Linked DNA regions of Homo sapiens: regions 1, 2, 3, 4, 5 and 6 are each linked to region 7. The links are contacts of gene promoters, found by promoter capture Hi-C in blood cells and fetal thymus (Javierre and others, 2016). All regions are on one chromosome and are shown on one strand. Each heading gives the region's core, a stretch centred on a gene start or on the middle of the fragment in contact. The rest is flanking DNA. Distances are from core to core; before and after follow the strand shown.

Region 1 (3,735 bases), core at 872-3,371, 400 kb before region 7:
TTCCTTCTGCTTTATTTCACAATTCTTGCCATACAAAATGAACAAACACACAAACACCACTACTAATGCTATTCATTCATTTATTTATTCAACCAATATTTATTATTTACTATGTAGCAGGAACAGTCTAGGTGCTTTTGAAACAATCATGAACAAACTGAACCACAGCAGCAACAAAATCCCAGATCCCATATAGAACTAACAATTAAAGACGGAGACAGGCAATAAACGAGGTAAACTGAAAAATATGTAGATAGTTGTGATACATGCTGAGAAGAAAAATAACACAGAGAAGGTGCATAGGAAGTGTCAGGCTGGTGGTGTGGGGATACAGTTTTGGGTAGGGTATGCAGGGATGTCCTTGCTAAGATGGTGGCATTCTAGTCAAACCCAGAAGGAAGTGAGCGAGCAAGCCAAGTGGGAACCTGGAGAAGACGGAGGTGGCAGTGCAGACTGGCATGTTCCTGGAACTGCAAAGAGGTGGTATGAGTGAGGGGAAGGCCAGTAGGAGGTGAGGTCAGACGTATTGAGTTCTGGGGGTTTGGGGAGAGAGTGACAGTTGCAAACAAGCTTGAAGGACATTTTGCTCTAAGTGAGATGGAGGTCAAGGACTTGGAGCAGAAAAGATACATGATTATATGTTTTGGCAGGATCATTCTAGCAGCTGGGCAAGGAACATGCTGAGGGGGAATAAGGGCAGAAGTAGGCATTACTTAGTGATGTTTGTTCAAGAAACATCTGTTGCGCTCCTATATGCCAAGCACTGCGTAGGTGATAAGGATTAAACGGGAGCACACTCTTCTTCCCTCTGGTAGGTTACTGTAACAACTACTCCCACCTCTGTCATTTATGAGTATTTACCCAGTCCCAAGCTCTGGGGTGAGCACACCCGTCCATTATTGCATTTATTCCTCTCAGCAAACTGTAAGGTAACAACCTCAGGATATCCTCATTTTACAGTTGAAGAAACTGAGGCTTAGAGAGGTTATGTAACATATCGTAGACCACATAGATACTAGGTAGACAGCCAAGATTTAAACCCAGGACTGTCTCACTCCAAAGCCTGCAATACTAACCACAATGCTGTTGCTGGAAACTTTTTCTTACGCTGGACTTTGAAAGTTCACCTAAGACAGCATGAGAAGTGATGGTATCTTCCAGGCAGCCACCTGGGCCACCAGCCCTCCCCTCCTTGGGATCTGCCTTCCCACTTTGTCTGAATTGAGGGTCCAACACTGCTCCTCGGACACAAGGTCCAGGTGGGGAGAGAACAGAGTCCAGCCCAGCCAAGGCAAGTCACCTGGGCTCTCTGGAACCCGGACTGCTTTGCTGTAGAGTAAAGTCCTGGAATAGGTCTCTAACCCTCTTTCCAGCTCTGAAATCCAAGGCGTATGTGATCTGAGGTAATAATTGTCTTGCCTCTCATGCTTGGTTTTTGATGAGACCTTCACATTCTTTAATAAACATTTATCTGTATCCAGGAATTATAGGAGATACAAAATGCCGAGGAATGCACTACTCATGATCTTTTTTGATCCTTTTAACAATCCAGAGACATGGGCTGTGTAAAGCCACAGTGCAAAATACAATTAGGAAAACACAGCAATAAGACCACTGTAGCTTTGAATGGTGCTGTTCACTAATTATTACCTCCCCACCCATTTTCTCATCTGACCCTCACAGCAGCCCCATGAGGTCGACAGGGTGAGGACATTATCCCCATATCACAGATGGGAAAACTGCAGCCCAGGGAGCTATGCGATTTCTCCCGAGGTCCTCCTCACACTAGTGTAGTGGAGCCGCTATGTTTATTGACCCCAAATCCAAGTCAACCCAACAGTCTCTAGAACGTTCCAATTACCTGGCCAGTCCTCACTTAGATAACATCGGACTCTTTCAGAAAAGATTAAACAAATCCTCTATTTGTTGACAGAGGTTTTGCTGAACTGGCCCTGGGGATCCGAATTGATCATGGCCATCAACACAGGCAGCAAAGACCCTTCAGAAGTGTTTTATTCACTAGCCACCTCCATCCCCCAACCCTCCATCGTCTAAAGTGTCTCCTGACTCAGTTCTGTCCCCCTGCTTGTCCTCTTCTCCTATTAGCTCTGGGTACCCAGTCCAGATCATAGCCCCAAGCTCTGTCATCATTTTGCAGCCTCCAGCCTCCCCCACCCAACTCAGCAGAGCCCTGAGAAGAAAGTCCTGGGTCCCGGAGGCTGCACCTGCAGACACAACAGATTCTGCAATGGTGAGAGCATATAGGGTATTTTGGGTCTCCAGTGGGGTTTTTGCTGATTCTGTGCCTGACCAGGGCACATGCTTCCTGGAATTAATAATTCTAGATAAAGAAGCCTAGCAGATGCCCACCTATGGAAAATGCTTCTTAAACAAGAAGAATCTCAGAATTAGGAGGCCAGCTTCTTGTTCTCAGCACTGCCCCTAACTAGCTGTGGGGCCTCGGACACGTCACTTGATGCCTCTGGTCCTGTTTTCTTCTGTACATTATGGAGGATTTGGACAGAGATGATCAGTAAGGTCCCTTCTAGCCAGACTGTCAAGGTTCAAATCCTAGCTCTGCCACATTCCAGCTGTGTGATCTTGGACAAGTTACTTTATCTTTCCTAAGCCTCAGTATCCCCAACTATAAAATGGGCACAATAGCACCTATCTCATATGGCTGTTGTGAGGACCCAAAGATACAATGAATGTCAGCCCTCAGCACAGGGCCTGGCACAGAGACAGTACTCAGCTAAGTAACTGTTTCTAAGTTGTTTATGATTTGAAGCTAAGGATAGAGATGCTTATTCTGAGAAGCAGAAAGGAACAGATGGAGAAGGAAAAAGGAAGATGGGACAAAAGGAGAAAAACTGGCCAGGTGCGGTGGCTCACACCTGTAATCCTAGCACTTTGGGAGGCCGAGGCTGGCGGATTGCCTGAAGTCAGGAGTTCGAGACCAGCCTGGGTAATATGGTGAAGCCCTGTCTCTACTAAAAATGCAAAACTTAGCTGGGCATAGTGGTGGACACCTGTAATCCCAACTACTCAGGAGGCTGAGGCAGGAGAATAGCTTGAACCCAGGAGGTGGCAGTTGCAGTGAGCCGAGATCGCACCACTGCACTCCAGCCTGGGCGACAGAGTGACACTCCATCTCAAAAAAAAAAAAAAAAAAAAAAAGGAGAAAAATTAGGGAAAATAGGGCAAAATTGGGGGTGGAGAAAGGCAGGAAAAATTTGAGGGCAGCAACTGCAATAACTTCAACAGAAAAGTAGAACAATAAGCATACAGCCCCAAAATACTCAGCCCCTTTCCTGCCTCCCCTTCCTCTCTGCCCCTAGCAGACGCCATGATAGCTCCTGGAATGATGCCTTTTATAACTGTGGGGCATGTTCCTCCAGGCTGACACCTTCTGGGGGGGCCCCTGAACACAGCATGGGCTCAGCCTTCCTCCCACACACCTACCCTGGTAGGCATCCCTTTGAGATGGATCTGAGTGGTTTCCCACCTCCTTCTAGGGGTGAACTGTCAGTTCAAGAAGGAGGTTTAGGGGGATGGGATGTCCCCTACCTGGGGCTAATGGGGGCTTGGGAGGTGGCTTACGAATCGAAGCCGAAGACAGCAGCCTACGTGACCAGAAAGGAAAATTCCCCTCCCTGCTAGTTAAGAAGCTTCACAGAAGCTCACCAGACTGTTGTTTTCTTTCTTTCTTCTTTTTTTCCTTTGTGCACACATAAG
Region 2 (4,155 bases), core at 36-2,535, 320 kb before region 7:
AATGGACAAATGTTAGTAGACATTTTAACAAGGAAGATATAGGAGTGACTAGTAAGCACATGAAAATTCATCCAGCTTTAAAATTTGATGACTTTTAATCAACTTACAGTTATACAACCATCATCACAATCCAGATTATGACATTTCCACTCCCAAAAAAGATCCCTTGTGCCTGTTTGTAATCATGTCACACTCCTACCTAGTTATCTGCTTTTTGTCTCTAGATTTTTGTGGACATTTCACACAAATGGAATCATACAATATGTAGTCTCTTGCATCTGGCTTCTTTTACTTAACATTCTGTTTTCAAGGTTCATCCACATTGTAGCACGAATCAACACCTCATTAATTTTTATGGCTGAATAATATTCCACTGTGTAGATATAACACATTTTGTTTATTCATTCACCAGTTGATGAGCACTGGTTTGTTTCCAGTTCTTGGATATTATAAATAAGGCTGCTATATAAACATTCACATTGAAGTTTTTGTGTAGAAATGTCTTCATTTCTCTTGGGGAAATTGCTGGGTAGGACGGTAAATTTATGTTTAAAAGAACTGCCAAGATGTTTTCCGAAGCTGTATCATTCTACATTCCTACAAGCAATGCATGAAAGTTCCAGTTTCTCCACATCCTTCCCAACATTTATCATCTTGGGTCTTTTTGATTATAGCCATTCTAGTGAGTACAAAGTAGTATCTCATTACAGTTTTAATCTGCACTTCCCTAATGAGTAATGCTAATGTCACATATCTCTCCATGTGCTTACTAGTCACTCCTATATCTTCCTTGGTAAAATGTCTACTAACATTTGTCCATTTAAAAATCTGAGTTGTTTATATTCTTACTATTGAGTTGTAAGAGTTGTTTATACATTCTAGACACAATTTCTTTATTGGATATGTGATCTGCAAATGTTTTCTCTCAGTCTGTGGCTTTTGAAGCACAAAAGATTTTACTTTTGATGAAGCTGAATTTACTAATTTTTTTTTCTTTTATGGATCGTTCTCTTGGTGCTGTGTATATGAACTCTGTGCTTAACCCAAGGTCACAAAGATTTTGTCCTACTTTATTTACTAGCAACTTTATAGTTTCAGCTCTTATATTTAGGCCTTTGATCCATTTCAGTTAATTTTTATGCACGGTGTAAGGTAAGGATCTAAATTCCTCTATTCCTCTTTCTGCATATGGATATCCAGTTGTCCTAGAACCATTTGTTGAAGACTGTCCTTTCCCTATTGAATTGCCTTGGCACCTCTGTCAAAAATCAATAAAGCATAAATTTAAAGTTTTGCTTCTGGACTCTTAATTTTGTTCCATTTAATCTATATATCTATATGTATACCAGTAATACACTGCTTTGATTATTGTTGCTTTACAGTAAACTTTGAAATTAGGACATGAAAATCCTCTGATTTCACTCTTTCTCAAAATTGTTTTGGCTATTCTTGGTCCCTTCCAAGAGTTTATCGATTTCTTTAAAACAAAACAAAGAAAAAACCTGTTGGAATTTTTACTATGATTTTGTTGAATCTATAAATCAAGCTGGAAGACTGAGCATGGTGGCTCATGCCTGTAATCCCAGCACTTTGGGAGGCCAAGGTGGGTGAATTGCTTGAGCCCAGGAGTTCGAGACCAGCCTGGGCAATATGGCAAAACCTCGTCTCTACAAAAAATACAAATATTAGCTGGGCGGGTGGCATGTGGCTATAGTCCCAGCTACCGGGGAGGCTGAAGTGGGAGGACTGCTTGAGCCTGGGAAGTTGAGGCTGCAGTGAAATGTGATTGCGCCACTGTGATAGGGCAATACCCTGTCTCGAAAACAAATAATAATAATAATAAAATATATAAAATAAATAAAATAAAAAAATATATATTTATGCTATAATGTGGATAAACCTTGAAATCAGAGAGAAAGAGAGATGCACATATATCTCAAGCTGGAGAAAAACTGTCATCTTAAGAATGCTTAGTCTTCCAAAACATGAACATGGAATATGAAATGTCTCTTTATTTAGACTTCTTTTAACTTCTTTCAGCAAATTGTAGTTTTCATTGTTCAAGTCTTACACTTCTTTTAAGTTTATTCCTAAGTATTTTATTCTTTTGATACTGTTACATACAAGTTATTTCCTAAATTTCATTTTTGAACTGTCCATTGATAGTACATACAAATGTAATTTATTTTTTATATATCAATCTTGTATTCTGCAACAATACTGAATTTATTGATTAGTCCTAGATACCTTTTTTTGGTGAATTCCTTAGTATTTTTATACATATAGAATAATGCAAATACAAGCAGTTTAACTTCTTCCTTTCCAAATTGTCTTCCGTTTTTTTTCTCCCCCTTACTGGAGGCTATAACCTCCAGGACGATGTTAATCAGAAGTCCACAAGAGCAAACAAACACTCTTACCTAATTCTCAATCTTAGTGGGGAAAGTATTCAGTCTTTTGCCATTAAGTATTCTATTTGCTGGAGAGTTTTAGTAAGTGCTCTTTATCAGGTGAGGCAGTTCCTTTGTATTTCAGCTTTCATCATGAATGGGTTTTGGATTTTTACAAATATCTTTTCTGTATCCACTGAGATGATTATGTGGTTTTTGTCCTTTCTTCTACTATTATAATGTGTTACATTAATTGATGTTCAGTTATTGTACTAACCATACATTCCTGGGAGATAAATCCTCCTTGGCCATGATGTATATAATCGTTCGATTTTTTCAGTATGTTGCTGGATTTGACTTGCTAAGATTCTTTTGAGAGTTTTGGTTTATATTTTCTCGAGGAATATGAGTTTGTAATTTTTTTTTCTTGTGCTATTTATCTAAGCTTAGGTATCTGGGTAATACCGGCCTGATAGGAAAATAGAGGAGAAATGTTATTTCTTCTTTGATGCATGTTTTAATTTTCAAATACATGGGGACTTCCCAAATTTCTTTCTATTGTTAATTTCTAGTTTATCTCAGTTGTCATCAGACAACACACTTTGTATGATTTTAATCCTTTTTAATTTACTGAAACTTGTTTTATGGCTAAAAGTATCCTGGGAGATGGATGTTCCATGTGTACATAAAAAGGATGTGTTTTCTGCTGTTGCTGGACCAAGTGTTCTGCAGATGGCAGTTAGAACAAGTTGGTTGATAGTGCTCAAATGTTGTATATCCTTCACGGCTTTTTTTTATTTTCCCCCAAACAGGGTCTCGCTCTGTTCTCAAGCTGGAGTTCAGTGGTACAATCTCAGCTTATTGCAGCCTCAACTTTCCAGGCTCAAGTGACCCTCCCACCTCAGCCTCCCGAGCAGCTAGGACTATAGGCACGTGCCACCACGCCTGGCTAATTTTGCTCATTTTTTTTTTTTTTTGTAGAGACAAGGTCTTACTATGTTGCCCAGGCAGGTTTTGAACTCCTGGACCCAAGCGATCCTTTCACCTTGGCCTACCAAAGTGCTGGGATTATAGGCATAAGCCACTGCACATGGCCTGAATTTTTTTTTTTTTAACGTGGCTCAAATAAATACTATGTCTGCAACTGTTATTGTTGAATTGTCTATTTCTTCTTTGAATTTTATTCCTTTTTGTTTCCTGTATCTTGGGCCTTTGTTGTTAAGGTGGCTATATAATTATAGTTGCTATATCTTCCTGAGGAATCAACAATTTTGTCACTATGAAAAATATTTTGGAAAATGAATTGGGGGCGGGGCATGTTTGGTTGAGATTATTAAGGGCTGTGGAATTTTTACAAGTTTTTGAGACACAATGGAACACTCGTCTTTCTGGAGGAGTATGGCAATGCTCACTTGCATCTATTTTAGAATGTTTACCAAGGACCTATTATGTGTCAAACGTACCTATGGGAAAATAAGATGACCACATCAATCAAACATGATTTTTCTTAGAAGATAGTGCTAAGGATATGGTTTTTCCCTTCATTTCTAAAATCCTATTCCAAATAATAGTAAAGAGATACAAAAGGGAAAAAGAGCTCTGGTGACAGGTATCAGAGGTTTTGAGATTTAGACAGATTTGCAGAAATGAGAAAAAGGATAAAACTGGATGGTGGAGAAATCAACCATAATCCAGAAGGGCACAGGAGAAGACTATGATAGAGGAGGAAATTATTCACTCTGATGGAGCCTCACAGAGAGTCCCA
Region 3 (4,081 bases), core at 471-2,970, 420 kb before region 7:
AGTAGACAGCCAATAAGTAAACATTGTATTTACTATTACTATTATTACATCTCGGACTGTCTTCTTGTTCTCAAAACAGGAGATGGAAACCCATGGCTGGGATTCTTCATTTGCTTTCAATATGTTATAAAGCAGCAGTGGGCATTTTCTCCATCTGTTGCAATCCAACTCATCCCTCTTCTGATTTCTGGGCACACCCATACCAGCACAGAAACATAACAATGATTGCAGAGGTAGGCCCGATAGTGAAAAAGCAGCAAAGCTCTGGCTGGTCATAGGATGACTGTTACATCCACCATTTTCATTTTTTAAAGATACTTACTCTGTAGGGGAATATTCTCCCGAAGTAAAAACATGTCTGAAAAAATATATGCAAGATGGGGGCTGTGCCCCATTTCCACAAATAGGGGGCAGGGGGATTGGCTGGATTTTTTTACTTCTCAGTGCCACTTACTTTGCCTCTGTGGAGACTGACATTTTAGCTATCTTAGATAAGGCTCATAGACAAAAGTTTTTCAAAGTATTACTTTGAAAGGAATCAGAAACAAAATCCACCCAGTCATCACTGGTCCGGGTGGCCACCTAGATTCTGAAGCCAAAGGGCTATTGTGGGTGCACAGCGACTGAGTATCTAAATGCAAACTTCTTGAACACTAAATCTTTGCTAAAATTGCTGGGAGGTGAATGTGAGGCAAGCTTTTAAGTGATACCAGTACAAATTTTTCATCAATGGCATTTTCACCATCAGATTGTTTCGCCCTCCAATCGCCTAGCTCTGCTCATCCAAATGAGCTATTTCATTTTTCAATTTTAGCGTTTCTCAGGCTTACTAGCCTAGAGATCACATCTGCTTCTGCTAAGCATCCCCCAGAAACGGTCCTGGGGAGCTCTGGCTTAGGTGAATAACCACTGCTGTATTTAATTTTAAATTCTTTGTATTTTTGCTTTTGTTCTTTAAAAAAATACATGTAATTATTGTTGGATATATACTTTTCCAGTCAAAAGTTACCCAGCATTGTGTCTTGTGCTTTACTTAGAAGGGTCCAGTTGCCCTGAGGGAACTCTCTTAGATTAGAGTTGTCCAAACACGCACTTTGGGAATCGTTTCTCCCAAGCCTTATTTATCTAAGGCTTAGGACCTTATATAGGTCAGATAATTGATTTAATAAATACCGGAAATAGTTCAAAATAAATTTCTTAGCTCTGCTTCGGCCAAGGCTAATTTTTATTAACACTAAAGTGATGGTGTTCGTCACTTTGAACAAACATTCAATATGGTTAAAAAAAAAAATTAAACCGGTCATTAGACCTGTTAATCAAAACAAAATGATCGCTTTAGTCAGCGCATGTACATAGTATGTCTTCCGGTCTAAAAAACAACTTTAAGTTCCCTGAAAACAAAGACGCCCCTGTCACGCTCACAGCTCTACCCAGCACTTAGCATGGTACCTGGAGCAGAGTCAATGTGCAATAATTATCAATAAGAATTGTTGAATGCACTCTGGGAGGCCGAGACGGGTGGATCACCTGAGGTCAGGAATTTGAGACCAGCCTGGCCAATGTGGTGAAACCCCATCTCCACTAAAAAATGCAAAAAATTAACTGGGCATGGTGGCACGTGCCTGTAGTCCCAACTACTTGGGAGGCTGAGGCAGGAGAATCCCTTGAACCCGGGAGGCGGAGGTTGCAGTGAGCTGAGATCGTACCACTGCACTCCAGCCTGGGCGACAGAGCAAGATTCCATCTCAAAAAAATAAATAAAATAAAATAAAATAAGAATTGTTGAATGAATTAAAAGGTGAGTGAATGAAGGAAATCTAGATGTTTTCATACGATTAAATTAACTTTAATGGTTTATTTGGTGGGTATATTGAATTGGCATTGTTTGGACCTTTCCTCTAGAGAACGTAGTATTAAACAATGTTATTTTAAAAACAAAACAAAAACCAGAAATTAAACCAGTGGAGGGGACAGGGCAGTTTGAGTGATTAGAATTATTTGAAATGAGTTGTAAGGATGGTTTAAGATAAAACCCTGCCATTATTAAAGTTTTCTGGTTGGACCATATGAAATTTCCACTATTTGTTTATTTCAGATCTACAAAAAGGATAATTTCATATGATTCAACTAACATTATAACTAAAAATAAAGAAATATGCTCATTTTTTCTGATTAGGCTTTAACACCGGAGGAAAGCGGAAAATAAGCAAGGCTAACACTGTTGGAGATTGTTAACTAATGAACTAAAAATAAACTAATGAAAGGCATCAGGTAGCAAAAGACTGGATTATAGTATAAACCACAGTATCCAATCACCCAGTTTCCTCAAAATATAGAAAGAAAAAAAAGCAAGATACTTACTATTAGTCTGGTTTGATCCAGGTTACTAAATAAATATTTCAGGTAGCCAACATTTTTCTGTTCTCTTAGTTTGAGATATTTTAGTAAAGATATAAAAATCACTGACGGAAGTTAAAATTTAATTAAATTTTTTTCAAAATTCCTACCAAGCCAGCCCAATAATATTGCATTCTCACTTCTTTATATTCCAATCCAACATTTTTTACAAGTGTAAAAAATTTTACTATCTTTTTATAGTTAACATAAAAACATAAGTCATATCATAATCAAAACATAAAACATATCATTAAAAAGTTTCAAGTGCTTTTTTTCTTAATATTTTATTGTAAGCATTGTTTTCATGTTTAGCCTTTGTGATTGTTTTTAATTGCTATGTAAGCTTCCATAGCATCCATGCATCGTATTTTCTTCACTATTTCCTTATTGTTGTACATTTGGACTATTTCTGATTTTTGTTATTTTAGCTAATCCTACAAGAAAATCTTTACATATGTAGCTTTTGTTACTTTCTTGGGCAAATCCAGGAATGACATTTGAAAGAATAGGTTAAAGTAAAACAGCATTTTGCAGGATGCTCTAGACTTCTGTTGAAAACAATCCCATCAAGGAAAGAAAATGTTTCTCTAACTCTCTGTTACCATCTCCAAGCCTTTGTGTCTCCTCTGGAGCAGGCACTATGGTGGAAGGAGAGGAGGCTCTGGAGCCAGAAGTCCTGAGCCGCCTTCCCCTCCCGACCTCAGAGCCCTGTTCTTCCTCTGTGAGATGGCGGCAATGGTGCCTCTTCACGCAGGGGACTGTGGAGTGGAGATCTGATTCGGAAGTGCCTAAACACAAAAGGCACTTGGAAAGCCAGAACCATTAGCATGTGTGCCTCAGTTTCCCAATCTGCAAAATAGAATATCATTTTCCCAATGCAATAATGGGGGAACACTGGACTGACATGCTTTTTTTCTTCCTCTGTCATTACATTGCAGTGTATACTTGGGCAGAAATTTCTCTCTAGGCTTTAGTTTTAGCATCTGTGAGATAAATTATGAGAGGATTGAACATCCCTTTTAGCTACAAAATGAGTTGTGTGTGGTCTTGAAATTACAAAGTTTTAAAGAACATTTAATGACTCAGCCCCCGATCCTTACCCCACCCCACAGGTATTGGCTCTCAGAATTCAGAGCCTGAACTTCCTTCTTCCTTGCCTCTCCAAATACTTTTTAAATCTGGGCTCTCACCTTACCACAATATTTTTAACATTCTAAGTGGGAGCCTCTGCTGTGAAAAATCCAAGGACAAAGTCCATCCCTTCTGCTTGTGCGTCGGCTGCAGATTTATTGGGGGCCGTGCAAGGACTTCGGTTGGTGAGAACAGACTTGAAGAGAAAGCAAATTACTGCCCGAAGCAGCCAAATTGCAGTGGTGAAAATGTTAGGCGTTTGCACTGTCCACTTTGCTTGCCTGTTTTGATTTGTGCTACTCAGCAACTAATTTTCAGGCTCAAGGAGAAAAAAATAAATAGAAAGCATTAGAACAAAGACAAGCAGGACCCTTGCCAGTCCAGACCGCCGTTCTCTGAGTGCAGCCATCCCTTTACAGTTGCAAAATGAGTTTCCATGCCTTTGTTTACTGGATCCTCATAACCATCCTATGGCAAATAGCAGAAAAAGCAGCAGGATCTATCTCTTCTCGTAAATGAAGAAAGTGAGGCTCGTAGGTCTGGTGACTTGCCT
Region 4 (4,190 bases), core at 11-2,510, 440 kb before region 7:
TGCTCAAGAACTTTGGAGGGATAAAAAGAGGAAGCACACAGGTCCCTATTCTGGGAATGTGGGGCCTCCCTCACCTCCCCATAGGAGGGCTTGTCCACACCACCTCCTCTTTCCTCCTCTTCATCTCCCACCCTTTCCACCAAGACAGTGACCCCATTCCCCATGCTGGGTTCCAATCATTCCTGGAAGGATTTTTCCCAGAGCAGTTGCCAGCAAACATTTTACAGTCCTCTCCTCCTCTCTGTGATGTAACATTTCCCAACACCTTCTATATACTAGGCACATAACCTACATCATCTTACTCATTCCTCCAACAAGACAGTACAGTAGGCATTGTTAGCCAATGTGGGACAAAAGATTTCAGATATTTATTAACTTGTTCAAAACATACAGCCAGCTAGTAGATGGAATTTGGAATTTGAACCTAGGTCTAACCTGTTCTAAAGCTCATGTTCTTCCACTACTGTGAACCAGCACCCAGAAAACTTGAGTTTTAGTTTTGATTCTACCAGCTTTGTGACCTTAGAAAAATAACTTAATTTTAAGTTTCCTAAACTACAAAATGGAAACTGGCTGGGCATGGTGGCTAACTCTTGTAATCCCAGCACTTTGGGAAGCTGGGGCAGCCGGAGTTTGAGACCAGCCTGGCCAACATGGTGAAACCCCATCTCTACTAAAAATACAAAAAATTAGCCGGTTGTGGTGTGGGGGGCCTGTAATTCCGGCTACTTAGGAGGCTGAGGCAGGAGAATCGCTTGGACCTGGGAGGCGGAGGTTGCAGTGAGCCGAGATCGCGGCATTGCACTCCAGCCTGGGCAACAAGAGCAAAACTCCATCTCAAAAATTTTTTTTTTTTAATTTAAATAAATAAATAAATAAAATGGAAACGGTACACCAATATTGACAACCTTACTGAGTCATCAAGATTAAAAAGACAATATGGCTGGGCATGGTGGCTCATATCTGTAATCTCAGCACTTTGGAAGGCCGAGGTGGGAGGATCCGTGAAGGCCAGGAGTTCAAGACCAGCCTGGGCAACACAGGGAGACCCCTATCTCTACTAAAAAAAAATTAAAACATTGGCCGGGCATTGTGGTGTGTGCACCCGTAGTCCCAGCTACTCAAGTGGCTGAGACGACAGGGTAGCTTGGCCCCAGGAATTTAAGGCTGCAGTGAGCTATGACTGCACCACTGCACTCTAGCCTGAGTGACAGTAAAACCCTGTCTCAAAAATAAATTTAAAAAATACAATATATTAATATGTGAAAATGACACACAAATGTAAGACACCCCCATTAAAGCAAAAAAGGTTCTTTTTCCAATTAAAGGGGCTTGGCTATCAATAGCAATATTTAGTAGGTTATATATAACTATAGTTGACCCTTGAGCAACATGAGTTTGAACTGCATGGGTCCACTTATGCATGGATTTTCTTCTACCTGTGCCACCCCTGAGATGGCAAGAGCAACCCTCCTCTTCCTTCTCCTCAGCCTACTCAATGTGAAGACAATGAGGATGAAGACCTTTGTGATGGCCAGGCACAGTGGCTCATGCCTATAATCCCAGCACTTTGGGAGGCTGAGGCAGGAGGATGACCTGAATTCAGGAGTTTGAGACCAACCTGGCCAACATGGTGAAACCTCCGTCTCTACTACAAATACAAAAAATTAGCGGGGCATGGTCGTGGGCACCTGTAATCCCAGCTACTCAGGAGGCTGAGGCAGGAGAATTGCTTGAACCAGGGAGGAGGAGGTTGCAGTGAACTGAGATCACTCCACTGCATTCCAGCCTGGGCAACAGAGTGAGACTATGTCTCAAAAAAAAAAAAAAAAAAAAGAGAAAGACCTTCATGATGATCCACTTCCACTTAATAAATAGTAAATGCATTTTCTCGTACTTATGATATTCTTAATAACATTCTCCTTGCTTTAGCTTACTCTCCTGTTAGAACACAGTATATAATACATACAGCATACAAAATAGGTGTTAGTTGACTATGTTGTTAGTAAGGCTTCTGGTCAACAGTAGGCTATTAGTAGTTAAGTTTTTGGAGAATCAAAAGTTATACGCAGATTTTTTTTACTTCATGGGGTTCAGCAGCCCTAACTCCTGAGTCATTCAAGGGTCAACTGCAATTCATCTTATCCATTCATAGTATCTCTCTAATCTTACCCATGTCCCCAGCTTATTTTTTTTGCCATCTTTCACAGTGGCTTTTGATAGAAAATCTTTGTGCAGCCTTTTACTTTCATTTTTTTTTTTCTGGAGTGTTTGGACATTAGGTGTGTTTTTCCTCCTTAGTGTCTCACTAAAAAAAAGCCCCAAAATTGTGCGGTTAATTTTTTAAAGGGCAATTAGTCTTTTGAGGGGTAGGGCGCACTAGGTAAATCTCCCATCAAAGTGGATTTGTGCCAGCTGTGAAGTTTGCAAACATGTCTTTAATAGCCATGCAATTTCAGCATCTGTAATACTCAAGACCATTTCAATTCCAAGTTGCAGAATCAAAGTCAAATAACTTAAGAAAAAAGCTATTGGCTCGTGAGATGGAAAAGCCCCTGGGACAGGCAGCTAGGCATGGCACGATCCAGGTTCTCAACAATGCAGCAAATGCTCTGCCTGTCTTTATGTCTCTTGCTCAGCTGTTCTCTGTGTTGGCTTCATTCCCAGGCAAGCTTCTTCCATCTGGTGAAAAAGATGAACACCAGGCGTGTCTGATCTTCCCAGAGGAAGAAGGGAGCATCTTTTTGAACAGCATTTCTGTGAGAAATGGGATCCTAAGGTGGCCTCCAAGATTGACACGCCATGGTACAATCTTCGTGATCGTAAGAAGAACCTGTGAATACGATGAGCTATCACTCCTGTGCTTTTGCGGTTTTATGTGGCAAAGGGAGAGTGTTCTGGGTGGGCCTGACCTGATCAGGCATATCCTCTAAAATCAGAGTTTTCTCCAGCTGGTTCCAGAAGACTAAGTCAGAGAGATGCTCTGTGTTTGGGCCAGAAGCAAGCAAACATCCACATTGTGAACTGCCTATGGGGGCCACCTGGCAAGGAACTGCAGGTGTTTTCTGGGACCTGAGAGCATTCCCTGGCCAATCATTAGCAGGAAAACAGGAACTCACTCCTATAACTGAGAGGAAATAAAATTTACCAACAACCAATGAGCCTGGAAGAAGACCCTGAGCCTCAAATGAGAACTGCAGCCCCAGCCAACACTGATTTCAGCCTTGTAAGTACCTGAGCAGAGAACTCAGCCATGCTATATCAGGACTTCTGACCTACATTACTGTAAGATCATAAATGTGTTGTTTTAAGCCACTACATTTGTGATAGTTTGTTATGCAGCAATAGAAAGCTAATACAACTTCCAAAAATTCTACTGTGTAAGTCAGGATCCTTTGGTTGCAAGCAACAAAAATCAGCTCTGGATAGCTTAAGCAAAAAAGGAAATTGGCTGGAACAGTGTTCGTGTAGCCACAGAATATGAGCAACTTCTGGGATGGATCCAAGAAGGAGAAACAAACAAGGGTTATGTCCAGGTCTTGTTTCATTCTGTTAAGATTTAAAGTCCGGGGAGAAAGCAGCTGATTGACATTACCTGATAGCCTCATCAAGCGATTATAATCGGCCGGCACGGTGGCTCACGCCTGTAATCCCAGCACTTTGGGAGGCCAAGGCAGGCAGATCACCTGAAGTCAGGAGTTCGAGACCAGCCTGACCAATATGATGAAACCCCGTCTCTACTAAAAATATAAAAATTAGCTGGGAGTGGTGGCAGGCACCTGTAATCCCAGCTACTCAGGAGGCTGAGGCAGAGAATTGCTTGAACCTGGGAGGTGGAGATTGCAGTGAGCCGAGATTGCACCACTGCACTCCAGCCTGGGCGACAGAGAGAGATTCCATTAAAAAAAAAAAAAAAGAGATTATAATCGTGGAGAATAGTTGACTCTTCAAAGCAAAATTGATACTATTGCTAGAAGATGGGGGTCTTGATGCCAGGCCTACAAAAACATCCCTGCATTAATATGTTCTTCCCCTAATCAGTTACAATGGCGAGGAAGACAGAATACTCTAATGGAGCAGGTTTAGTCATGTGACCATCCCTGAGCGCAGACAGGCTAGGGGTTAGCTCCACTTGTACTGCATGGTCTGGCCAGGGTTAATATGGGGGTTGGGGGGAGGAAGGGATGCTG
Region 5 (3,914 bases), core at 396-2,895, 360 kb before region 7:
CATTTGCTCATAAAGCGCTACCCCTAAGAAATCATACAGCCCTGTTCTTCCCTCTTCCCTTGGAACCCTTATCTATGGGAATACATAATTTGTAGGTAGTTTTGAACAAATGATCCAATTTTACAATGAAACATGAATATTTGAAATCTGACACTGAGGAGAGAATTAAGGAGGCTGTGGTACTTTTTAAAAAAATTTTTGTTTATTTATTTTTTTAGACAGAGTCTCACTCTATGGCCCAGGCTGGAGTGCAGTGGTGCTATCTCAACTCACTGCAACCTCCACCTCCTGGGTTCAAGCGATTCTTTTGCCTCAGCGTCTTGAGTAGCTGGTATTACAGGCGCCCGCCACCACACCTAGCTAATTTTTTGTATTTTTAGTAGAGATGTGGTTTCACCCTGTTGGCCAGGCTGGTAGCAAATTAAAGAGAGTAGTAAAACATTATATGTTGCCAGTAAATTAGCTGGAGTCGTTCTGCAGTTCAGGGTGATTGAGGTATCTCCAGTGGGTCATTGCTATAAGCACTGGGCAGTGTGAGTCCTGGCCTCACATTTGGTAGCAGGCCTTCTGTATCTGTCAACCCCCCAGGCCGGCCTCTCAGCCCTCAATGAAAGAAAGCTAATTGTAGAGTCAAGAATATGACCTGCTATAATGGTTCGATCCTGGGAGAAGGGACTCCACAGCCTGGTGAGGACCCCTCTCACCACCTCTGAGGATCAGCAAGTCTTTGAAGGTCAGTACCAAGTGGTGGTTAAGACCTGGACTGTGGATCCAGATGTGCCTGGATTCAACCCTGGCTGTAGACATTAGGCATGTTATTAACTTCTCTGAGCCTCAGTTTCCCTAGCTGTGAAATCAGAGTCACTGTGAAGACTGAATGAGAAAACTCACACGTGTGGTTCCTGGCCCAGAACAAATCTTCAACCAGTGGTTATAACTATTACTCTGTGTGTCTAGCCTATATCTTTTCTGCTGCAGTGAAAGTTAGTTATTCGATGAAAGGGAGCAACCCACTGAGGGGGATGGTCTGGGTGCCTGGATGCTGTGGTCAATGGGTCGGCATCACACCCAGCACCCTGCCCAACACAGACACCGCCCCCACCCCCCCACCCATAGCTGCTGCCACTGCCTTCCTAAGAACAGTGACTTCCTGTTTTCTAAGTTTTTACCCTGCAATGTCATCACCAGTTGTGCCTGAGCCTGGGGGTGGAGCTGGCAGCAGCAGGACTCAGGGCTCAAAGTTGGGGACTCAAAGGAAGGAAGGTTGGCGAGTAGAAAGCTGGCCACTCCTACCTGGATCATGAGCTACTGTGATTCATATTGATTCCATCAGTGCCTACAAACTGAGCGCTTACCAGGTACCAAGCCCTTCCCATTTGAGTGTCACACACCCTGGGAGGTCGCTGTGATTACTCAGTGATTACACAGTAGCAACACCAGGACTTGGATTGCAGTTGTCGCCTTCGTAGGATTCATTCTTACCTGCCGTGCTTCCTATCAAAGTGGAAACAAGCTGGACGGGGGTGAGGTTTGAAAGGCTGCCCTATAGAAATTGGAGGATCTGTGTGATTTGTGCTTCTGAAGGCAGAACTAGGTTCAAAGTTTTTTTTTTAACTCTGAAAATTAGAGCTCTCCACCAGTGATTGCTGGGTGCTGAGCTTCCTGTCACCAGAGATATTCAAGCAGAGGCCAGAAGTGCCTACCAAAGAAGAAACTCCTGAAAGAGGTGGGAAGCTCTCTATATGACAGGAACCCCAGAGGCACTGGGATAAGGTAGATTGAGAAGGGACTTTGCATCAGATGCACTCAGAAAATCTCTAGCCATGTGACCTATTGGAGCTGCAACGTCATTATCTGCAAAATAGAATTGGTAATAATTCTGCCCGTATTGTGCAAGGTTGTTCTGAGGATTAAGCCAGATCATGCAAGTGCAAAGAGCTCTCTAAACTGTATGCTTCATGCATGTGTTACATCATTATCATTTTGTGAAGTGAGGAGTTCTCAGAAAGTCTACACACTACTGAGCTCCCACTGTGTGCCAGGCACTTTGTACACACCCATTATCTCTTTTTATTTTTTTTGAGACGGAGTCCCACTCTGTTGTCCAGGCTGGAGTGTAGTGGCGTAATCTCCGCTTACTGCAAGCTCCACCTCCTGGGTTCACACCATTCTCCTGCCTCAGCCTCCTGAGCAGCTGGGACCACAGGTGCCTGCCACCACGCCCGGCTAATTTTTTTGTATTTTTTAGTAGAGACGGGGTTTCACCATGTTAGCCAGGATGGTCTCGATCTCCTGACCTCATGATCCGCCCGCCTCGGCCTCCCAAAGTGCTGGGATTATAGGCGTGAGCCACCGCGCCTGGCCCCCATTATCTGTTTTTATCTTCAAACACCCCTGAAGAGTGGGTATCCCCATCCTGGGCTGGGAAACCTGGCCAGGTTCTGTCCCCAACCGTGGCATGATGGTGTGGGAGGTCAGAGGGCCATCCCCTGCTGTCACTCCTTGTACCTGCAGAGCCTCTTAGCATGCGCCACTGTGCAGGGCACCCCACAAACTTTACCTCATTTCTCTGCACCCGTGAAATCGGTCTTGTCAAAGCCCTTCTGCAGATAGGAGAATTGACGCTCAGAGAGGTTAAGAAAACTGTTCCAAAACAAGCCAATAATGGGGCAGATTCCACATTTGAGTCTTAGAGTCTTTCTGACTCAAAGACTTATTATGTTCTTTGCTCTTCTCTAAGCCTGTGATGTGCGGGTGAGGAGGGAAAGGTGCAAATGAAACTATAAGGCACCATCTGTGCTTGCCAGAGCCAGTGGTGGGGGGCGGACTTGAAGTGGAACGTTTACAAGCCGTTGTGACTAAGTGTCAAAAGTGGGCAAAATGGCAAGGGCTGTGAAATCAGAGGTAGGTGGAAACTCCGGATCCTGAGCCCATAGGTCAGCTGCATCGAAGCCATAAGGCTAAGAGAAGTACCTGGAGTCAGGAGACCCAGGAATTCCCTTCCAGCTTTGCCACTAACCTGCAGGTGTCCTTGGTGAAGTTGCTTCATTCCTCTGATCTCAGTTTATCCACCTGTGAATTGGGCCCAAAAGTAGCCCCCTGTTTGTCTCCTGGCACTCATAAGAATCTAACTCCATCAGACACAGGAAGTCACTTTAAAAGTAGAAATTAGAGTTCAAATGAGAAGAATCCTTATTAGTTGGATGTGAGTAAGTCCCGCAGATGCCCAGCTCCGAAACAGGATTTGCTGGAGAAGGAGGTTGACTGCAGGGGAAAGGGCACCAGCGTGTATTTTCAGCCTCAGGGTATGGCAGGACCAGGTTGATTAAGGCCTGATCCCTGTTAGCAGAAGTTCATAGTCTGGCTCAGAGACAGACAGACAAACAACGCAATTCAAGTAAATCTCACCCAGAGAAACCAGATTCTGTAAGGATAGGTGCGTCTCCCCCAGGGTGCACTCTGGGGCTCCAGAATCTTCCTGTTAGTGGTCAGTACCATGAGACTTCCTGAATTCAGGGCTTTTTTTTTAATGAAGATGACAAAAGGCTACAAAGGGATGGCGAGGCTCACTGTCACTAATTAGACTCACAACACTTAGATACAATGACCCGTATGCCTAGATACTCTGTGATCATCTTTGGCTGCCCCCAGCCTCCTCTGAGCATCTCACATGGCCTATTCCTGGGATCTTGCTACAGGGCAGGAAGGTTCCAACTTATCGTGCATGGGCTTAAAGTAGAAATCATGGCAGTAACAATAGGTGGCAAAATGGAACACATACCCTTATGGGGTCCTTCACCCCATAAGAATTATTTTATTTTATCCTCACCCCATAAGAAGTATCATATTTGGCCAGGCACGGTGGCTCATGCCTGTAATCCGAGCACTTTGGGAGGCCGAGGCGGGCAGATCAC
Region 6 (3,787 bases), core at 444-2,943, 340 kb before region 7:
GGGGGAGAACTGAGATATGCTCACAGAAGCAGGGCTGAGAAACCAGTTTCTGAGAGAGCAAAGCCCTGAATCCGAGGGGAGAGCGGCTAGCCCTGGAACTGCCAGGGTTCCTGTCTTTCCTGAGGTCTGGCAATGCCTTCTCCACAGCACAACTGCACTCCCTCCATCCTAAGACACTGTTGGTTACTGATGTATCAACTTATTTCAAGGGCAAAAACACTAAATATCCATTGTAAGATGTAGATCTGTTTCATGGGTTAAAATGTGAAGATATGCTTAGAATCAAGGAAACATGGAATTTTACTTGTATTGAGGAAACACATTATATATAAAGATGGAAGCTTTCAATATTTTTCAAACGTTTATTCAAATGTCACTAAACTCAGAGATAAGATATGAATATTTCTGATCGCTTTTCTTCTTAGAGTATAATTTGAGGTCATTCTTGGAATAAGATCCAAGGTTTCTAGTTTAAAATGTTCCTATAAGCAGAGAAATACTCAAAACTGCAAAGCCTGGCTTGGCAGAGAAAAAATGGCAGATGACCTACTTAGGCTAAGAGGACAACTTCCGGGGTGATTTAAAGCCTTGTCATTTGGCCAACTGTTTAGCCACAGGCCTCAAACTGTCCATGAATAACTTGTGATGTGTTTTGGTTGCTTGGTGCTGGACATTTCAGTTGTTGATCAACAACTACTTTTGTGAACCCATGACTGAGTCCTAACACCGGATTTCCTGTTAACTTCAACCTGGGTCTTTGGAGAGATGTAAGTCCCTCCAAAAACAAAAGAGTAAGGGCATATATTATTCACATCCTGCCATAGGTAATTCAGCTTTGTATACAAACCTGGAAATGGGTTAGAATTTAACAACTTTTTCACAAAGGACTACAGGGTAACAGAATCTCATCAGTTGTTTATCCTCATTCCTTAGGATATGACAAACGAGTTTTGCTTGCTAAGTCTGTGAGCACGACACTATCTCAAAAACAGGATTTCTGTTAAAAACTTGACATTATTTTAAGAAAATAACTACAAACTGAGACATAAGCCATATATCTAAGGAATGGAATGGAAAAATATAAATTCTATGATAAAGGAGCAGGGAGAAAGGGACCCACCATTTGCCTTCCCATTTTGGTCCCTTTCCAGGAGAGCGAGCACATCTTGCGACAACGGCTCTCCACATCATCTAATTCAAGAATGCCTGCCAGATGGCCAGCACGTGATAGACAACTTCCCCAGGTTCTTCAGTAAGCTGAAGCCTTCTCTCTGTGGGGAATTCATTTTAAAATTCAAACTTTACTTTTCATGAAATGAATGAATTGTAGTAAGACACTAAATGCTAAGTGGTATTTATAAGTCTGAAGAAGCTAAGTTGTGCAGCCTCGAACAGGAGGAGGACCAGATGCCAAGTTCAGGGTTACCTTCCTTCGGAGGACCCCCCACCCGGCCCCCACCCAGTGAATGTTCAGGACTTGGCAAGAAATGCTAGAGGGGCAGTGCAGTTTAAACAATACATTTGGAAAAAGTTGAGTTCGGTCCCAGTTCTGCAGTCAAATACACAGTGAGATGGAGCTTTGAAGAGCTCCCTTGCAGGATCAATCATGGGCCTGCGTGTTTGATCACACAAAGTACTTGGGCCTGAGGGAGACTACTGCTACTCAGGGTCCCACGAAACCACACTGAGGGTCTGGGAGGGAGAAATGCAGTGGCCATAGCTCCTCCTGGAGTGCAGGAGGAAGGGTGGAGTGGGGCAGGAACCAGGGTGCTTATGGTGATTCTGGGGTTCCTGAGAGCACTTGGAAAAAACAATTTGGAAGCTGAATTATGCGAAGTCTGAGAATCTGTATGTGAAGCATCCAGAATACCAACACAGCAATTTCAAAGAAACTCCAACAATGTGAAAACACTTGGAAGATGGTTTAATGATGTTTTACAACAGAAATGAACTGTACAGTTACAGTAAGTTTAATATATATATAAAAAATTACAGCAGACAAATGCATCTACACAAAATCTACCACTTCATTCTGATTCACTGTCACCTACACAATCTTTCCCAAGCCTACAGCCCCTGCAGGCAGCCCTAGGAGGGGGAATCATCTAAAGGGCACTTTTGAGAGAGACAGCACCGCTCATATTCCCCGCCACCTCCTCAGGCTTCAGGAGGCATCAGCTAATTCCCCAAAATGTAAAGTTGCCTGTGTTTCAGGTTTTCAAAACCAAGAAAACGTGTGTCTCCCAGGGGCACAGATAACAAGGTCCAGCACGCAAGTTATCAGCTGATTCTTAGAAAATATTCCTATCAGAGGGGAAATATTTGGCTAACAGGCACTCTGGGGCAGTAAGGCTACACAATAGCCACCCAGAGTGCAGAGTTATCTAAGAGAAATGTAGAAGGACTCCCAATAAACCACCTCAGAATTGTCACTGCCTCATTCAAGCTGCTGGACAATTTTGGAAAGAATCATTTACACCACATCTTAAGTTTCCACAAAGAAGAACTCAAACTCACATTTTAAAGTACATAAAACAAAAAGTTCTAGGAGGCCGGGGGCCAATTCCCCTTGTGCCCCTCCTTTGACAACAGTGGACAAACACCCCTGAATTAATAATTAAGACAAAAAAGGAAGAAAAAAAAAGTGAGTTAAGATATTGAAAGAGAGAAAGAAAACATCTTTAGAAAAACACGATCACTGTCTCTTTAAAAGAAAACAAAATCCCAGTTGGGAACAGTAATGAGGAATATGCAATCTAAATTGACACCTGGTGGGAGATTATTATTGAATATTATGTACACTCAGAACTTTTTTCATTTTCTTTTTTATTATGAACACCTAGGCAGTGAAAACTGTTATGTTAATACATACATAGACACACCCAAAACATACAAAAATACTATTATTTCAAACTACTAAGAATAGGACAGTTCAATTATTTTCATGCTATGACTTTAAGAGCATTACACTGAAACAAACAAGAAGTTAAACGACATTTTTTTTTTAATATCCCAGAAATATACCAAAATATACATCTAAGCTTTGGAATTACTGAGGTTAGACTAATGCAAGTGCTGGGTAATCGTACTTAATACACGAGTCTAAGGTTCTGCAGGAAAGAAATTATCTTTGGTATCTGCATCAGGCTAATATTATTAACATTTGGATTTTGCTTTGGGATAGAGCTTGTGTGACCCAAGAACCAAGTACCCCCCTCCCCCAACCAACTGAGATTAAAAAGATCCATGTAAAAAGTTCCTTCATTTGCAATCCCCCCACCCCCCAAGTTAAAAAGTCACAGGCATCTACCTAGCACAAAAGGTTGTGAAGTACAATGCATAGTTGCACAGTGGTGCTGCAAAAAGGAAAGAAAACTACAATAAAGAGAAATGAAAAGCTTGATAATCTTTCTGCATGTTTTCTCACAAACAGGACAGCCACTTCCAAGCAGTTCCAGTACAGGAAAAGAAAAAAAGGCTCAGAAGGGCACCGTGGCGTGCATTCGCCCAGCCCCAGAGGTTAAAGCACCCAGCAGAGCAGCCAATCGTGCGCCAGTGTCTTCAACGTCCCCCACTCTGTGGAGTCCTCGGGCCAGTCCAGCAGCAGCTCCCACCCTCCCTAGGCCCTGTGCTAAGTCCCCATAGTGACCCTGGTTGGTGTAGGGTGGATGATGGTGGTGATGGGGTTTTTTGACTTTTGTTTTGGAAAATCTGAAATGCCAATTTGTTTCAGGGCATGCTCACAAGTTTGTGAGGGCCAAAGCTAGGGGCATGCACCTGTGCTGGA
Region 7 (3,698 bases), core at 372-2,871:
GAAATACGGGCAAATGAGCTACCTAGTCTCAGAAAAGAAAATATATATGATGTGCAACTATATTAAAAGATTTTCAATTTCACTAATAATTTTTTTTTTTGAGACAGAGTCTTGCTCTGTCGCCCAGGCTGGAGTGCAGTGGCACCATCTTGGCTCACTGCAAGCTCTGCCTCCCGAGTTCACCATTCTCCTGCCTCAGCCTCCCAAGTAGCTGGGATTACAGGCGCACACCACCACACCTGGCTAATGTTTTGTATTTTTAGTAGAGGCGGGGTTTCACCGTGTTAGCCAGGATGGCCTCGATCTCTTGACCTCGTGATCAGCCCACCTTGGCCTCTCAAAGTGCTGTGATTACAGGCGTGAGCCACCGCGCCTGGCCAAATTTCACTAATAATTTTAAAAAGTAAATTATATATACATGGGATATCATGTTCACTTAGATTGGCGATGAGCAGAAAGTTTGATAACTGTGTCATAAACACTTGGTAACTGTGTTAGTGAGTGTGTGGGGAGATAGGTATCCTTATATGCTGCTAATAGGAGTGTAGGCTGTAAAATTCTCATGGTAGCTAGTTTAGCAATATCTATAAAAATTACAAATATGCATAACTTTCAGTGAGTCAGAAATTTTACTTTTAAGAATTTATCTTACATGTATAATCACAACACGTGTGAAATATCGTACACATAATAGATATTGGTTGCAATCTTTTCATAGTTGTGAAAGATGAGGAAAAACAATCTTAAAAGTAGTTTGGTTAAATAAATCATGTCACTCATATACAGTGAAATATCATCCCCATTTTAAAAAGATGATGGTGGTGGTGCTATACATACCGATACAGAAAGCTTTCTAAAACCTTTCATTAAATGAAAAATGAATAAATCATTGCAGAACAGTGTATATATATCTAAAATATCTATGGAAGAAACCAGCAACAGCCACTGCTCCTGGAGAATTATGGTCCCACACCACTGATCATTCTTTCAGTAGGGTGACCATCATCCAAATTTGCTTGGGACTGAGGGGGTTCCTTTTGGTTTGAAAACCAGGACAGTCCTAGGAAAAGTGAGACAAGTTGGTCACATGTCCCCAAGATGATCTTCTTTCACTTATGAACTTGCTACTTTCCCAGTCAGAATATAAACTCTGAAGGGGGAGACTTCCTGTTTTCTTCATGACTATATCTCTTGCGCACTGTGGGGTGGAGGCTGTAGAAGAGGAGAGAAGTAGAGAAACAGATCACATTGTGTCTTGAAGTGTTTCAGCAAATATGGGCAACACCCTTCTTTTACTAGCTTGGAACCCTACCTCTGAGTGCATTTCCCTTTTTATTATTTATTTCCTGTCAGTTATAAGAGAGGCCTACCCCTTTGTGAGCAGTCTAGGACTTTGTACACTTGTTAAGTAGGGAGAAGGCAGGGGAGGTGGCTGGTTTAAGGGGAACTTGAGGGAAGTAGGGAAGACTCCTCTTGGGACCTTTGGAGTAGGTGACACATGAGCCCAGCCCCAGCTCACCTGCCAATCCAGCTGAGGAGCTCACCTGCCAATCCAGCTGAGGCTGGGCAGAGGTGGGTGAGAAGAGGGAAAATTGCAGGGACCTCCAGTTGGGCCAGGCCAGAAGCTGCTGTAGCTTTAACCAGACAGCTCAGACCTGTCTGGAGGCTGCCAGTGACAGGTTAGGTTTAGGGCAGAGAAGAAGCAAGACCATGGTGGGGAAGATGTGGCCTGTGTTGTGGACACTCTGTGCAGGTGAGTAGGCCCCTTTTCTCTCCAGTGCCCAGGGGTGGGTGAGACATGGGGACCTAGGGCTGAAGGAGAGGCTCTGTCAGAGCCTTCCCAGGAAGGGCCTCCAGCAACACAGCTGCGTTCCTGCTGGGCCAGAATTACACATTCCGGACCAGTGCCCAGAATCAGAATGGTTTTTATTTACATATTAGTAAATAACATTCTAGCCCACTGCTGAAATGAAGAATTCAAAGTACTCTCAAGACCATATTTTCTTATCCCAAATTAGATTATAGGATCAGACACAGGATTTGACAATGTGGACAAAGTATTTGAAATCGGAGTTGTCCTAGAAAATCCAGGATGTGTGGATCTAGATATGTTCATTATCTAGTATATTAACGTTTGTGTTAAAACCAGAGAAAGAGACAGGAAACTGAGGCAGAAGAGACAATGCAACTTATCCCGTATCATTCACAGAGCAAGAGAAGATTCAAACCCTAAAAACAAACAACAAACTAGATGGGTCTTTTCCAAAGGCCAAAGCTCCTTGCCACTTCTGGGACCCTGGTCATTGAAAATTCTGGGACTCTGAGCATTTCCCTCTGGGAGGGAAACCTCCCAGAACAAAATCAGACATTCATGAGTATATGGTTGAATCCACATCAAGTGCTTAATAGCACAGTGTTCTGTGGGGACCTATGGAGTGTCTAAGGGTTAGAATGAAAGTCTTGGCATTAAGGTACCAACCATTTTGCTGGGCATTGGAAGGAAATAGAATGGAGAGAAGGAAGTTGAGAGACGCAGGGTTTGGCAAAGTTTAGGAATATCTTTGGTTTAGTGTATTTGGCCATCACCTTGCAATTCAGACACTGTTGAGGGCTTCCAGGATCCAGCTGCAACGGGGAGGAGAAGAGCTATACCAGGAAACTCAGGAGCACCAAGCCTGGGGAAGTGGAAACCAGGAGACTGGTTTAGAGCTCACTTTTTAGCATACACAGGAAAGCCCCGGGCCACGGGGCCTACAGCTCATTCTGGTTCTCCCAGGCCCTAGACATGCTTTTCTCTCAACACCTGGCCTTGGGGCTCTCGAGGGAAGGGCAGCCTGCTGCTGGGGAAGGGCTGGATCACACGGTTTGGAGGAAGATCTGGGTAAGATCATTCTCTCAGGCTGGCTCAAGTTCATCTGACTGAAGGCAGAAAGCCCCTCATCATCCACCAAGATGGACTGGTTGGCTCATTCCTTTATCCAAACAACTCTTTACTGAGCACATAGTTTGTGCAGGTGCCATAGAAGTGAGGAGTCTGGAATGATTAGTCATAAGTGGGCCTATCTCAGCCATCAGATTCAGGCAGGGAGGATGCTCCAGGGCCTGAGAGAGGGAGGCTGAAGGAAATACCCATCCTTCCCTGGCTGGGCCAGTGATTCTCCCATCTTCTCCTGGTAAGCCAGAAGCTCCTCCATGCCTGCACCACCCCAACCCCCAACACATATCCCCACACTTGTAGACTGGCTGCGACCCATGCATGAATAAAAATAAGAAATTTTGGCTTAGAAAAACGATCTTAAAACAAGATGCTCACCCAGCTTGGAGGGAAAAGTGGCCGTAACTCTGAATTGCCTGGAGCAGGACATTTTGCTTCTTCCTATGAGAAGGCAAGTGACCCCTGGGGAACTCACCCAGCAGAACGAGTCTTGGGCATGTTTTCAGACACACTGATGAAGTGTCTTCTACCTCCGCCCCATCCCTCCCACCACAGCCTGCCCAGCACAGAATCACGTGCCCACCAACTTTTCTTCCTCCATATCTTACATTAAGAGGAAGAAGGGGCCAGAGCAGTGGGGCAGGAGAAGCCAGGCTTGGTGGTCGACTTGAGGTATATAAACAGAGTTTACCAAATAGTGAAATAGCCATTGCCACTGCAGGTGAGCAAGGAAGACCTTCAAAGGTCGACCAAAAGCAACCAG

The links. The method cuts DNA at HindIII sites, captures the fragments that hold promoters and counts their contacts. A CHiCAGO score of 5 or more calls a contact.
Region 1: a contact is called between a fragment that was not itself captured here and the fragment with the promoter of GPA33 in region 7, in 4 of 17 cell types (endothelial precursors, naive CD4 T cells, naive B cells and 1 more). The highest score is 7.6, in endothelial precursors.
Region 2: a fragment that was not itself captured here is called in contact with the fragment with the promoter of GPA33 in region 7 in 1 of 17 cell types (naive B cells); the score reaches 5.7 in naive B cells.
Region 3: a fragment that was not itself captured here is called in contact with the fragment with the promoter of GPA33 in region 7 in 7 of 17 cell types (endothelial precursors, naive CD4 T cells, erythroblasts and 4 more); the score reaches 10.9 in endothelial precursors.
Region 4: a contact is called between a fragment that was not itself captured here and the fragment with the promoter of GPA33 in region 7, in 12 of 17 cell types (endothelial precursors, fetal thymus, total CD4 T cells and 9 more). The highest score is 8.8, in endothelial precursors.
Region 5: a fragment that was not itself captured here is called in contact with the fragment with the promoter of GPA33 in region 7 in 12 of 17 cell types (naive CD4 T cells, naive CD8 T cells, total B cells and 9 more); the score reaches 10.1 in naive CD4 T cells.
Region 6: a contact is called between a fragment that was not itself captured here and the fragment with the promoter of GPA33 in region 7, in 2 of 17 cell types (naive CD4 T cells and endothelial precursors). The highest score is 6.1, in naive CD4 T cells.

Annotation. Positions count from the first base shown.
Region 1 is chr1:167,492,480-167,496,214 of GRCh38, reverse strand. The region is part of intron 1 of CD247 (CD247 molecule); the gene reads left to right. Among named protein-coding and RNA genes, the nearest start is that of CD247, 24 kb to the left of the region's middle. The HindIII fragment of the contact is 3,098 bases long and covers 573-3,670 here.
Region 2 is chr1:167,404,727-167,408,881 of GRCh38, reverse strand. All of the region lies in intron 13 of POU2F1 (POU class 2 homeobox 1), which reads right to left. Among named protein-coding and RNA genes, the nearest start is that of CD247, 110 kb to the left of the region's middle. The HindIII fragment of the contact is 3,104 bases long and covers 1-2,837 here.
Region 3 is chr1:167,511,821-167,515,901 of GRCh38, reverse strand. The region is part of intron 1 of CD247 (CD247 molecule); the gene reads left to right. Among named protein-coding and RNA genes, the nearest start is that of CD247, 4.7 kb to the left of the region's middle. The HindIII fragment of the contact is 2,044 bases long and covers 699-2,742 here.
Region 4 is chr1:167,528,733-167,532,922 of GRCh38, reverse strand. It overlaps LOC107985224 (a long non-coding RNA gene), which reads left to right. Exons shown (of 2, transcript XR_001738279.2): 2 at 2,668-3,384. It also overlaps the pseudogene AKR1D1P1. Among named protein-coding and RNA genes, the nearest start is that of CD247, 12 kb to the right of the region's middle. The HindIII fragment of the contact is 2,829 bases long and covers 1-2,674 here.
Region 5 is chr1:167,445,162-167,449,075 of GRCh38, reverse strand. The region is part of intron 1 of CD247 (CD247 molecule); the gene reads left to right. Among named protein-coding and RNA genes, the nearest start is that of CD247, 71 kb to the left of the region's middle. The HindIII fragment of the contact is 5,276 bases long and covers 1-3,914 here.
Region 6 is chr1:167,425,457-167,429,243 of GRCh38, reverse strand. It overlaps POU2F1 (POU class 2 homeobox 1), which reads right to left. Exons shown (of 16, transcript NM_002697.4): 16 at 1,904-3,787. Among named protein-coding and RNA genes, the nearest start is that of CD247, 91 kb to the left of the region's middle. RefSeq lists an enhancer at 3,054-3,787. The HindIII fragment of the contact is 2,700 bases long and covers 344-3,043 here.
Region 7 is chr1:167,088,300-167,091,997 of GRCh38, reverse strand. GPA33 (glycoprotein A33) reads left to right here and starts at 1,621. Exons shown (of 7, transcript NM_005814.3): 1 at 1,621-1,753. The coding sequence starts at 1,711. It overlaps LOC124904451 (a long non-coding RNA gene), which reads right to left and starts at 3,398. Exons shown (of 3, transcript XR_007066717.1): 1 at 3,314-3,398; 2 at 2,587-2,675; 3 at 617-1,212. RefSeq lists an enhancer at 1,446-1,595. The HindIII fragment of the contact is 4,295 bases long and covers 852-3,698 here.